2 separate regions of the Homo sapiens genome follow, and region 1 is linked to region 2. Evidence: promoter capture Hi-C in human tissues and cell types (Jung and others, 2019). All regions are on one chromosome and are shown on one strand. Each heading gives the region's core, a stretch centred on a gene start or on the middle of the fragment in contact. The rest is flanking DNA. Distances are from core to core; before and after follow the strand shown.

Region 1 (7,285 bases), core at 3,012-5,511, 230 kb after region 2:
TATTTTAAATATTTTTCTTTTTCTTTTTATTTATGTATTCATTGTTTGAGATGGAGTCTCACTCTGTATCCAAGCTGGACTGCAGTGGCATGATCTTGGCTCACTGCAACCTCCACCTCCTGGGCTCAAGCGATCCTCCCACCTCAGCCTCCTGAGTAGCTGGGACCACAGGTGCATGCCACCACACTTGGTTAATTTTTTGTATTTTTGGTAGAGACAGGGTTTCACCATGTTGCCCAGGCTGGTCTCGAACTCCTGAGCTCAAGCAATCCACCTGCCTCAGCCTCCCAAAGTGCAAAGATTACAGGCATGAGCCACCATGCCCAGCCTTTTATTTTATTTTAATTTTTTCTCTGAAATGTATGTTTCATTTGTAGTTTTTGCTTTAGTTCCCTGATAAACTATTTGGGCAGTTGTTTAAGGCAGAACACTTGTCTTTGAGAGGTCCCCTGTTGTGTTGACCCTGGGACACCAGAGTCATGTTGTTCTGTGGCCCCAACCAGGCCTTTGAGGTTCACTGCTGGCTGCCCCCTGGGCACTCCAAGGGTTTTGGTATTGGTACTGTCTCTCAGGATTGTGGGATAGAGGCCCACCCTAGGGGAATCTCAGTCTTGCCTTTTCTTGTTTTCTGCCTTAAAGTTAAAGTTATTTTCTGTAACAGCATTTTCTTTTCTTGTCACTTCATTTACACTTTTCCTTCTACATTTTGCTTGATAAAAATACTTTCTTTGTCGTACTTCATCCACTGGAAAATGCCTATAATCCACTTTCATAATGCCTTGCTTATACCTCTGCAGGAAGTGAGAATCTAAAAGGGAAAAATAATGAGAGCCCAGTTGTTTTCCCTCTCACTAGACTTAGAAAAACCTCTGGCCAGGCGCAGTGGCTCACGCCTGTAATCCCAACACTTTGGGAGGCCAAGGCGGGTGGATTACTTGAGGTCAGGAGTTCGAGACCAGCCTGACCAACATGGTGAAATTCCATCTCTAGTAAAAAAATACAAAATTAGCCAGGCGTGGTGGTGCACGCCTGTAATCCCAGCTACTCAGGAGGCTGAGGCAGGAGAACTGCTTGAATCCGGGAAACGGAGGTGGCAGTGAGCCAAGATTGTGCCATTGCACTACAGCCTGGGCAACAAGAGCGAAACTCCATCTCAAAAAAAAAAAAAAAAGAAAAAAGAAAAAGAAAAGAAAAACTTCTATGTCCAGTATAAATCCTTGTTAGACATGGAGACAATGATGAACATCCCAGAAGACTTACCACTAGGGTGTCTTTTAGGCTGTTGGAGCAAATTCAAATTCAACCTAAAGAAAAAGAAACTCATTTTCTATTGTAGCACCACTTGGGTCCAAAACAAATTAGAAAACCAAGAGATTTGGCCTAATATATAGATTTGGTTCTATATATTGTGACGCTATTTTACAATTGGACTTATTCTATATAAAATAAGGAAAATGGGAGGAGGTCCTTTATGTACAGGCTTTTATGGTCCTTTATTGGCTCATATTACTCCCAGGAACCCGGAAGCCATGCCTAAGGGTTTCCCTCCTAGCTGTTCCCACTAGAAGGCCTACATCTTTCCTGGAGTCTCCTCAGTCCCCCAGTTCTGAGGAAGTCCACCCCAAGTTTATCAGGCACCCTTATCCAACTAGCCCCAGCCCATATTCCTCACTTCCCAAGGTAGTAAGCCCAACCAGTACCACCAGGAGTGGGGCCCCATATTAGCCTCCAAAATAAAACTTGTGTCCATTGTAGGAGGTAACCGATGGAAATGGGGTGATACTTAGAATACATGTTCCATTTTCTATGTCAGATTTGGCTTTATGCAAAAAATTTGGCCAGTTTTCAGAAAATCTAGAAAAGTTTATAGAAGAATTGGTTGACAATTTTTTAAATTTAACTTGCCGTGACTTGCAAGTATTGTTGTCTCCCTGCTGTGCCATGCCGGAAAAAAAAGTGGAGGAAAAAGTGTGTAGTTAAGCCAGCCAATTATGACAAAGTTAGAGAAATAACTCAGGGAAAAGATGAAAATCCCACTCTGTTTCAAAGTTGTTTGGTTGAGGCACTCAGGAAATACACTAACGCAGACCCAGACTTCCCAGAAGGCAAACTCTTCTGGTTATGCATTTTATTACTCAAGTTGCCCCTGACATTAGGAGGAAGCTACAAAAAGCAACAATGGAAGCTCAAACCCCTATGAGCCAATATTTAAACTTGGCCTTTAAAATTTACAACAATAGGGACAGGGAAAAAGAGTTGAAAAAAAAAAGACAAAAGAAACAGCTCTAGCCCAGGCAACATGATGAAACTCTGTCTCTACTAAAAATACAAAAAATTCGCTGTGCATGGTGGTGTATGCCTGTGGTCCTAGATACTGAGGAGGCTGAGGTGGGAGAATCACCTGAGCCCAGGAGGTTGAGGCTGCAGTAAGCTGAGATAATGCACTGCAACTCCAGCCTGGGCAACTGGAGTGAGACCCTGTCTCAAAAAAGAAAAGAAATAGCCAAAAAGTGCAATTGTTAGCTGTTACTTTAAGTCCCCTGCCACCTTAGAATTACCTATCCTGAGAAAGTGTCACAAGATCACCATCTGGGATGCCCAGATGAGAGCCCCCAACTCACTGGCTCCTGGTCCAGAATCAATGTGCCTACTATAAGCAAAAGGACCATTCACAATGAGAATGTCCTAACCATCCCCAGCAAACGAGGGAAAAAGCTCCCCGTCAATATTAGAACTAACCTTCTTCCATATGTCCCAATGAGCCACCTTGCTCAAGTAAATTTACTCAGATTCCTGGACCCTTGACCCAATGGACAGCTTTTTGCAGTGGAAGACAAGTGGCCACCAGAACATTTTTCTTTGGTGTCTCCACTGCTAGATGCTCTGGTAGCTCAAGGACTCTGAGACCTCCCCTTGAGCAACATGGTTTACCACCTCCCTTCCTTATTTGATGCTATGGGGTCCCTTCTCTGCCTCTTCCTGTCTTCCCTACGTATCTGGGCAAACAAAATGTATTGAGATAGACAGGTCCCAATTTTATAAGTAACTTGGATCCATCTGTCTTGTGTAGGTCACTTCATTTGTGTGATGGGTGTTGTGTTTAGCATACTATCAAATTGGCTTATAAATAAAAGAGAATTCATAAATTAAAAAATAAGACTAGTCTAAATTTATTAGTTTGAAGGGAATGTTATGTCTTCTAAAATTTAACTTTAAGATTTTTACCTAGATGAACCTCTGATGTTTGTAGCCTTTAGAATGGTTAGGATGGCTTTTAAACAGTGAGCTTATGTATAGTTGAAAATCTTAAAGCTGTGAAATAGTTCTCATCTATAGAGTGCCAATGTCTGATGAGCAGTTCAGAATTTCTTGCTCTTTAGATTTATATAAAATAAGCCAAAGAAAGTGTGTTTTTTATTGGGAAAAATAATAATTTTTGTCTAATTTGGAAGTTATTAAAAGAGAGGTTCAAAATATGAAGGAACCAGTAAGTAGAAAAGAGAGATATGAAGAAAGTTATGGATAGATGTACTTTTTGCAAGGAAGAATACAAAGAAGGATACAAGGAAGGATATAAAGAAGGATACAAGGAAGAATACAAAGTTATTTTATATGAGGAGGGATCTTGTGTAGTAAATTCTTATCCTAGAGTAAAATGATGAGTTCTTTAAGGAAGGGGTCCTATAGGACAAGTCAGAAAGTCCAAGCATGTTGTAGATGGTCCATGTGGGTCATGATGGGGTTTGTGAAGGGGAATTTTGTGTATGATTAAGCTTAAGCTGACTATGACTAAAGGAAAACTGTGGTAGACTTTCTAGAGAATGGTCTATATATTGGCAACAGGTTTTCTTAAGGTATTGATTTGCTAAATTACAGGAAGTTTTGCTTTTAATAATCTACCTGGTTTATTTTAAAATGTCTTGGATTCATGTCTCAGAGATTCAACTGTTGTTGTGTCTCACTACTTTCAATTCTTTCTCCCTTTAAGAAGGCCTGGGATGATGGCTCTTTCCATCAACCTTTTCATCAACATTGTGACTTTTTTTCCTCTGGTTCTGACTATTGGGCCCTGGTACTAAAATGTTTTGTCTTAGAGGTCTGCGAAAACAGTGTTTTCCCCGAATATAGCTTGATTCTATGCTGTTTTTTTTTTTTTTTTACATATAACCTTATTATTGGCATTTAGTTTTTGACTCTTATATTGCTTTAAAAGATTTTAAGGGCAAATGAGTGCCTGCTCACCTCCATTTCCTTCTGACCTAGGATGTTTAATTGGCTATAAGTCTTTTGACTCTAAGTCCCTTAGCCAAAGGGAATTCCAAAGAAGCCTTCAAAAAAAAAGAAGTCAGACCATGACAGGAAACAGGGGGCCAAACATGCCTCACTGTGCCACCCCTTAGAATTTAGGCTAGGCACAAAGGCCCTTCAAAAATTATAATAACAAAGTACTTCCCTTTCCCACATAGGAAAGAAATAGCTCCTCTGTTCAACCTGAACACCTAGTCTTACAAAAAACTTTTTGTTAAAAAGGATCCCCAGAGGATCAATTACAACCCAAATGGAAGAGCCCCTATCAGGTATTGTTAAGTACCTTCCCTGCTGTTAAACTTCAGGGAATCACTAGTTGGGTACACCTGTCCAAGATTAAATCTGTTTCTTATGAATCCCTGACGGCATAAGAGGAGGACACCATGATTTACACCTGTGAGCTCCTATAAGACTTAAAGCTGTTGTTTCACAAACACAAAGATAAAAAACATGATGCCATGGGCATAGATGCATTAATTTTCTCATCCTCCAAATTATAATTTTCCTGTTGACCTCCTACTTAAGTTTATGTCTTCTAGATTCCACATAAAGATGATGCTGGCACAAGGTTTCAACCCATCCCATCTTATGACCTGAAAAATGAAAATATCCTGTTGGACCCCTTAGATCAGGTATCCAGAGATTACCAGAGGCTAGGGGCATGGGAGAGTGGGAAATGGGAAGATATTGCTCAAAAGGTACAAAGTTTCAGTTAGACAGGTATATTAGAGTTCTCTAAAGGGACAGAACTAATAGGATAGATGTATATATGAAGGGGAGTTTATTGAGGAGTAATGATTCACATGATCACAAGGTGAAGTCCCACAATAGGCTGTCTGCAAGCTGAGGATCAGGGAAGCCAGTCCAAGACCCAAAACCTCAAAAGTAGGGAAGCCAACAGTGCAGCCTTCAGTCTGTGAACAAAGGCCCGAGAGCTGCAAACCACTGGTGTAAGTCCAAGAGTCCAAAAGCTGAAGAACTTGGAGTCTGATGTTCGAGGGCAGGAAACATCCAGCAAGGGAGAAAGATGAAAGCCGGAAGGCTCAGCAAGTCAAGTCCTTCCATGTTCTTCTGCCTGTTTTAATCTAGCTGTGCTGGCAGCTGATTAGATGGTGCCACGCCAGACTAAGGGTGGGTCTGCTTCTCCCAGTCCACTGACTCAAATGTTAATCTCCTTTGGCAACACCCTCACAGACACACCCAGGAACAATACTTTGCATTCTACAACATTTTTATATTACTGTATTGTATTAGAGATGGGGTCTTACTCTGCCACCCAGGCTGGAGTGTAGTGGCACAATCATGGCTCACTGTAGTCTTGAACTCCTGGGCTCAAGTGATCCTCCTGCATCAGCCTCTCCAGTAGCTGGAGCTACAGGTGTGCATCACCACACCTGACTAATTTTTTTTGGGGGGGTAGAGATGGGGTCTCACTATGTTGCCCAGGCTGGTCTGAAACTATTGGCCTCAAGAAATCCTCTCACAGCTGGGTGCAGTGGCTCACACCTATAATCCCAGCACTTTGGGAGGCCAAGGTGGGTGGATCATGAGGTCAAGAGATTGAGACCATCCTGGCCAACATGGTGAAACCCCGTCTCTATTAAAAATACAAAAATTAGCTGGGTGTGGTGGCACGTGCCTATAGTCCCAGCTACTCAGGAAACTGAGGCAGGAGACTCGCTTGAACCCAGGAGGTGGAGGTTGCAGTGAGCCAAGATCACGCCACTGCACTCCAGCCTGGCAACAGAGCAAGACTCCATCTCAAAAAAAAAAAAAAGAAAAAGAAATCCTCTCATGTTAGCCTCCCAAAGCACTGGGATTACAGGCATGAGCCACTGCAGCTGGCTATGAGGTGGACAGTTTTAGATCTTGCATATAAGTGAGATCATGTGGTATTTGTCTCTCTGTGCCTGGCTTATTTCACTGAACATAATGTTCTCCAGGTTAATCCCTGTTGTGGCAAATAATAGAATTTCCTTTTTTTTTTTTTTTTTTTTGACGCAGTTTCACTCTGCCTCCCAAGCTGGAGTGCAGTGGTATGGTCTTGGCTCACTGCAACGTCTACCTCCTGGTTCAAGTGATTCTCGTGCCTCAACCTCCTGAGTAGCTGGGATTACAGGTGCGCACCACCATGCCCAGCTAATTTTTGTATTTTTAGTACAGACAGAGTTTCACCAAGTTGGCCAGGCTGGTCTCAAACTCCTGACCTCAAGTGATCCGCCCACCTCGGCTTCCCAAAGTGCTGGGATTATAGGCATGAGCCACCGCGTCCAGCCAGAATTCCCTTTTTACGAAAAAAAAAAAAAGGCTGAATAGTATTCTGTTTTTTATATACACCACACTTTCCTTATTCTTTCATCCACCAGTGGACACATAGGTTGATTCCATATCTTGGCTATTGTGAATAATGCTGTGATGAATATGAGATTGTAGATGTCTCTTCAACATATTCATTTCAGTTCCTTTAAATATATACCCAACAATGGGATTGCTGGATCATATGGTAGTTCTATTTTGAGTTTTTTAGGAACCTTCATACTCTTTTATATAAGGGCTGCACTAATTTACATTTCTACCAACAGTGTACAAGAGTGCCCTTCTCTCCACATCCTCGCCAACACTTTTTCTTTCATCTTTTTATTTTCTTATTTTCTTATTTTTATTTATTTGTTTGTTTTTTTGAGAAGCAGTTTCACCCTGTCGCCCAGGCTGGAGTGCAGTAGTGAGATCTCCGCTCACTTCAACCTCCGCCTCCCGGGTTCAAGTGATTCTCCTGCATTAGCCTCCCAAGTAGCTGGGACTACAGGTGTGCATCACCATGCCAGGCTAATTTTTTTTTTTTTTAATTTTTAGTAGAGATGGGTTTTCACCATGTTGGTCAGGCTGGTCTAGAACTCCTGACCTCAGGTGATCTGCTTGCCTTGGCCTCCCAGAATGCTAGGATTATAGGCATGAGCCACCATGCCCAGCCTCATCT
Region 2 (6,427 bases), core at 1,506-4,005:
GGGCTATTAAAGACACAGGGTGCCATGTGCATTTCCAGACAGACAAGAGGAGAAACAGGGTGGGAGTGAGTGGTCCCAAACACAAAGTCTGCCCCAGGCAGCCTAGGACACTGGGAAGGGCCCTGGCCTCCAAAGCAGGAAACATGGGCACCAGCCTGGTCTGCGTCTAACCAGTGAATGCCACTTTACTCTTAGGTTTTAGTTTTCTCTTCTATAAGTCAACTGTTGGCTAAGATGATTTAAACAATCTTTCCAACTCTGATTAGCACACTTTCATGTGAGAAAGCCTCCCCCGTGCTGGCCCCAGAGCCACCTCTCTTAGAAAAACAAAGTAGAAACAAGGGAGACAGTACTCACTTAGTCTCCTCGATGCTGAGTGAGGAGGCATCGCCTGAGCTAGTTTTGGAGCTGGCAGCTGGAACAAGAAGAAGCATGGCTCAGGAGCTGAACACAGGGCCAAGAAGCCAGCATCGTTGGCTCCAGCTGCAGGAACAAAAATGAGGGCCCCTCACCAGCACCTGGGCCTGCTGAAACACCAGAAAACAGCAGCTTCTTCCACCCAAGCTCCCCAGCAGCTCCTCTGCCCGAGTCCAGTCTCAGAGCCCTGCCTCTTCTGTGCACCTTCCTTTCCTGACCCAAGACATCCAAACTGCTGTAGTCACCACTCTGCCCTCTACTTTTTTCTTTCATTTTTAACAGACAAGGTCTGGGCCGGGTATGGTGGGTCATGCCTGTAATCCCAGCACTTTGGGAGGCCGAGGCAGATGGATCACGAGGTCAGAAGTTCAAGACCAGCCTGGCCAAGATGGTGAAACCCCGTCTCTACTAAAAATATAAAAATTAGCCAGGCACGGTGGTGCGCACCTGTAATCCCAGATACTCGGGAGGCTGAGGTAGGAGAATTGCTTGAACCCAGGAGGCAGAGCTTGCAGTGAGCTGAGATCGTGCCACTGCACTCTAGCCTGGGCAATGGAGCAAGACTTTGTCTCAAAAAAACAAAACAAAACAAAAAAAAAACTCTTCCTTTCCTGCATTCCCATCCTGCATCCTACCTTCTCCTTTATCTTAAAGGCTTCTCTCTCCACCTGGGCCATGGATCCCAACCTCTCCAGGCTCCCCAAGGTCACCAGCCTCCTCGTTTCTAAATCTAGTGGGTTCTTTTCGGTTCTGGTTTTGCTTGATCTCCTGTGGTATGTGGGACTGCTGATCGCTCCCTCCTTCTAACAATACTCTCTTCCCAAAGTTCCCATGACACAAAGGTTTTCCTGCCTTTTTGGTTACTCTGTCTCCTTTTTTTGGTAACATCTTTCTCTGCCTACTACTAACATAAGGGCATTTCTCAGGTTCTAGTCCTGACCCCCTCTTCTCATGTCACAGTCTTTCAGGGGCTTCACTGGCCACCCAGATACTGACTCCCAATGGCTTTATCCAGTCCAAACTCTGGATTTCCCCATTACCATCAACCTTGACAACCCCAAAAGTGAACTATCTCCCCCCACCCCCGCTCCAAATCTGCTTCTCTTCCCTACTCCTCAATTTCAGTAGAAATGACACCCACTACCTATCTGGCTGCTCAAGCCAAAATTCAAGGAGTCATCCTCCATTCCTTCTTCCCACCCTCATACAAGTGCTGAGTTCTGTTCATTCCTCCTCCAAAACACCTCTCCAACCTGTCCACTTCTCTCAATCCCACTGCTGCTGCCTTGGTGCAGGCCACCATCAGCCCTCCCCTGGCCTATAGCCCTCCTGGTTTCCTGGTCTCCAGTCCTGACTACCTTTGACTAAATTCTCAATCCAGTGATGTTTACAAAATACGGATCTGAGCAACTCACTCCTCAACTCACATCCATGGCTCCCTACTATCCTCAAGACAATCTACAGTTCTTAACAGAGACTACAGTACAGGGTCCTTTGTGTTCACATCCCTGTCTATCTTACTCCCTCATTTCTCTACCATGCGCCCTACACGATTCGTCCAATACCAGGTTTTTCTTGCCTCTGTATATGCTGACACTACTTCATTCACTCATTCAACATATTTATTGAGAATCTGATTGTACCAGACAACTGAGGAAAACAGAAGCCCTCTGTCCTCAAGCAGCTGAGTGGAGAAAGTCAACCTCTAATCCTAAACAACCGTAGAAAGACTTTTTTCTTTTTGAGACAGAGTCTCGCTTTGTTGCCCAGGCTGGAGTACACTGGCGGGACCGCAGCTCACTGCAGCCTCTAACTCCTGGGCTCAAGGGATCCCGTAGAAAGACTATTTAATAGAGCTGGTAAACAGCTTGGGGGTTTCCTGGCCTGAAGAGCTTCGCTGACACTGCGCGCACACCCAGACCCACGCGTTCCGGGACCCCCGCCCGACCCGCCCCCTGCGCAGGCCCCGCCTCCTCACCGGCCTCGTAGCCGTCATCGCGCTTCTCCCGCTTCACGCGCCGCTCGGAGGGCTCTGCCTGGCTGCGCTCCCGCCCGTGCGTGCTGCTCCGGGCCTCAGCTTCGGCCCCGCGCCGCCCGCTCCCGCGCTCGCCCCCACGTTCCCGGCTCCGCTTCCGTCGTTCGCCACCGCTACCGCCACTGCCGCCACTCCGGTGCTTGTGTTTTTTGTGTTCCCGGTGCCGCGGCGGCTGCTCGGTGGCACCCCCGGTGCCGGCCGCCGCCGTCGTCCCGGCCGCCTCCTTCTCTCCGCGATGCTTCTTGGACGACCCCATAGTGGCACGTCCACTCCGAGCCCGGCTGCCGCCGAGCCCAGACAACGCAAAATGGGAATACTTCCGGGTCGCTCGGCAGCCGCTGTCGTGTTGCCGGAAACTAAGAGCGGCTGCTTCCGTCGCTCGCCTTGGAGCCTGCCCCAGAGGCTCATGGGAAGGCCGGGATCAGCGCTCGACTGCACATTCGCGCCGTCTCGGGTCGGGTGGGTTCTTTGAGCGAGTGGTCCCATTGCGCATGCGCTCCTCAAGGGAAGCGGAATTAACCCGGAGGTGGGATCCCAGAACTGGAAGGACTTAGAGCCCATTAAGTCAGTGTCTTCGTGGCTTTAAGTTCCTCCCCGGCCTCCCTGCGCTTGCACTTCACCGGCAACGGGGTGTTCACTACCTCACGGTCTTTCCGTAGACACCTCCCTCCTACAATGGGCGCTCGCTTAGTGGACTCCTAGGGTCGTGGCTCCAACGGGTGTTGTTTTCCCGAGATCTCCAATTCCACAGCCCAGCTTCAGACCCGCTATAACCAGTATCGTCAGGGAACGCTTCCTTCCCACGTTCCCTGTTTTGTTTTGTTTTGTTTTTTCCCTTGAGATAGGATCTCACTCTGTTGCTCAGGCTGGAGTGCAGTGGCGTGATCACAGCGCACTGCAGCCTCGACCTCCTGGGCTCAAGTGATCCTCCCACCTCAGCCTTCCCAGTAGCTGGGACTACGAGAGTACGCTACCACGCCCCTTTAATTTTTGTATTTTTTTGTAGATGGTTGGTGGGGAGCGGGGGTAGGGGGTGGGGTCACTATGTTGGCCAGGCTGGTCTCGAACTCCTGAGCTCAGGCTATACACCCGCCTTGGCCTCCCAAAGTGCTGAGATTACAGGCATGCGCCACTGCGCCTGGCCCTGGATTGGATTTTTAAAACCTGGCCCCGTGAACTGTTAAGATTGTTTAGGAGCTCCACATGGGCGTCAGTGTATCCCTGGAACCCCTGAAATTGAATGCAAAATGTGGCACATCTGTGTGTATGAGTTTTTTTCTTGAGGAGACCAGCCCTAACTTAAAACTATTGGGACTTAAAACCCCAGTGCAGGCCGGGCGCGGTGGCTCACGCCTGTAATCCCAGCACTTTGGGAGGCCAAGGCAGGCGAATCACGAGGTCAAGAGATCGAGACCATCCTGGCCTACATGGTAAAACCCCGTCTCTACTAAAAATACAAAAATTAGCTGGGTGTGGTGGCGCACACCTGTAGTCCCAGCTACTCAGGAGGCTGAGGCAGGAGAATCGCTTGAACCTGGGAGGCAGAGGTTGCAGTGAGTTGAGATCACACCATTGCACTCCGGCCTGGTGACAGAGCGAGACTCTGTCTTAAAAAAAAAAAAAAAAAGCGCAGTGCACACAATCCCAATCTCTCCTGAAACCCCTCCCCTCACCCAGTGGTTGCTCAGTCTGTGGCTCCCTGTGTGGCACAACTCAGCATGTGTTAGGCTATGTTGTATGCGCCCCTTTAAGGATCCACCCCCTCTCCCACTCACTGGGCGTCCTCAGAGGCAGGAGTCATTTCATCTTATTCATGCTTGAATTTATAGGACCCAACATATACATTGGAGATGGGGTGGAGAAGTCACAGCTCTTGCTCTTTGAGATGTCCCCACTCCTCAGGAGCAGAGAAGGGGCTGTGTGTACTGGGTGGGGGGAACCAAAAGAGCCAAAGCTCCTGGTGGGGAGGGGGTGCGGGGACAGAGCTAAGCCTGCTGCCCACCCACCTGCCACCTCCAACTTCCAACCCGTAGCTTCCACCACCCCCACCACCAGAAATCTCATACTGTGTTTGCCATAAAGCCTTTAATTTTATCTCAGGGACTGCACTCCGGGTCCAGGCTGGGGTTGTAGTGCCTGTCAGGCTGGCTGCCGGTGGGTTCTGTCCTTGGGGGCCTCTGAGGAGAGTGCTCCATTCTCACCCCCATTGACCTGTGGCTCCTTCAAGACACAGATAGAGGCCCCTGACTCTGCAGCTCCCACCCCCATGCCCAAGGAAACCACTGACAATGTGGCTTCAAACCCTGCTTCAGTGCCGGCTTGCTGTGTGATCCTGGGCAAAGTGACTCTTCTCGAGTCTCACTTTCCTTATTGTCAAGTGGGCTTCATAATCGCTGCTCTGTACCAGGTTATTCTAAGGCATGGGGTGACCAGCGTGGTGGTGCCAGCCCCTAATGAGGGACTTGGTGTGTGGCCGCTCAGATGGTTGCAGAGTCCCAGACTGGTTCTGCTGCTTGTTCGCTCCTGCGTCCTTAAAGAAGGCCCTTCCCCTCAGGTCCTTAGTTTCCTCATTGAGAAGTAGGAATGACAACCCTGGCCTTGCCTTCCTCTGGGCTCTCTGCCTGTCCTGGGGGAGGCCCTCCAGAGCCCAGAGTGCTGGTGTGGGCGCCCCTTCCCGCAGCAGCATGGCAGAGTCAGTTCTTGACCTGACGGGGAGACTCACCTGGGTTTCCTGGGGGTGCCCTCTCTGTCCACCTTTCCTGCCTCAGACAGCAGCTGCTCCTCATCCAGCCCCAGTGCTGACAGCACCTGGGAGAAGCGCCGAGTGACGGTGAGCCGGGCATTGGCCTGAGGAGAGAGAAGACGGCTTCCTGCTCTGCACCAGGGCTGCCGAGGGCAAGGTGGGGATCGGGTTACTGAGGGGGTCCCAGGGATTCCAGAGGGCAGCAGCCCTGGGATCCTATCTGCAGGGACCTACTCGCATCCTGCTTCCCTACCCACTCAGCCAGCTCTTCACAGGGGGCAGCTATGTGCTTGCCCAGGTGCCAGCCTCACCTGCATAGCCTGCTGGAACAGGAAGGGCCGGGCCTGCACCCTGTGCTGGATGCCTTGCAGCTCCGCCTGGTACTCAGCAAAGCGCTGTCGCTCCTGGCGCCTGCAGGGGAGACAGGCCTTTGTGCAGCTAACCATGGACACAACTGTTGATCTCCATTCCTGAGCCCGCTTATCTTCACTAAGGACTTGATATTCATGTCCTCACCCTCACCTTTACAAAGCTATTTCATTCCCATTCTTGCCTGGATTCCTTGTGAAGTCAGCCAAGGTGGAAATTATTCACCCAATTTACGGATGGATCGGGAGGGTTGAGGGACTTGTTCAAAGTTGTGCAGCTGGGAAGTGAGGGGCCGAGCCCTGTGCAGCTGGGGCTTGCCCATCCTCCTGTGCCAGCCCCATGGGAAAGGGGCCAGTGCTGGCTTCTGAGCTTCCAGACACGTGCTTACATAGCTTCCCCTCCCCATCCTCTTTCCCTTGAGGGGGAGCTGTGGTTGTTGGTTGTGTGACTTTGGGTGAGGCCTCTCTCTGGGCTCTTGGCTCTGGGCTCAGTTTATTTCACTGTGCTATAGTAGGGATCGGACAAGCTTGCCAGCATTCTCTGTGGTTCTTGTAAGCAGACAGCTTGGAAAATGGGACAGAGAAACTAAAAAAAAATATGTTTCAAATTTAAAAAACACACCCCTGAGAGATCAGGGTTCCACTGGGGAAGCACAATTTTCATTTATAAAAACCCAATTTGGCCAGGCGTGGTGGCTCGCACCTGTAATCCCAGCACTTTGGAAGGCCAAGGAGGGTGGATCACTTGAGCCCAAGAGTTTGAGACCAGACTGGGCAACATGGTGAAATCCTGTCTCTACAAAAATTAGCCAGACATGGTGGTATGCACCTGTAGTCCTGGGTAGTTGGGAGGCCAAGGTGGGA

Evidence for each region. Contacts are between HindIII fragments. The study calls those that stand out against the background at their distance.
Region 1: a contact is called between a fragment that was not itself captured here and the fragment with the promoter of SART1 in region 2, in 6 of the 25 tissues and cell types used here (IMR-90 fibroblasts, adrenal gland, aorta and 3 more).

The regions. Positions count from the first base shown.
Region 1 is chr11:65,733,457-65,740,741 of GRCh38, reverse strand. No RefSeq gene overlaps it. Among named protein-coding and RNA genes, the nearest start is that of RNASEH2C, 16 kb to the right of the region's middle. The HindIII fragment of the contact is 9,114 bases long and covers 1-7,285 here.
Region 2 is chr11:65,958,062-65,964,488 of GRCh38, reverse strand. SART1 (spliceosome associated factor 1, recruiter of U4/U6.U5 tri-snRNP) reads right to left here and starts at 2,755. Exons shown (of 20, transcript NM_005146.5): 1 at 2,396-2,755; 2 at 358-415. The coding sequence starts at 2,708. It overlaps TSGA10IP (testis specific 10 interacting protein), which reads right to left. Exons shown (of 8, transcript NM_152762.3): 6 at 5,507-5,606; 7 at 5,175-5,299; 8 at 4,523-4,672. The coding sequence ends at 4,549. RefSeq lists an enhancer at 2,110-2,897. The HindIII fragment of the contact is 22,503 bases long and covers 1-6,427 here.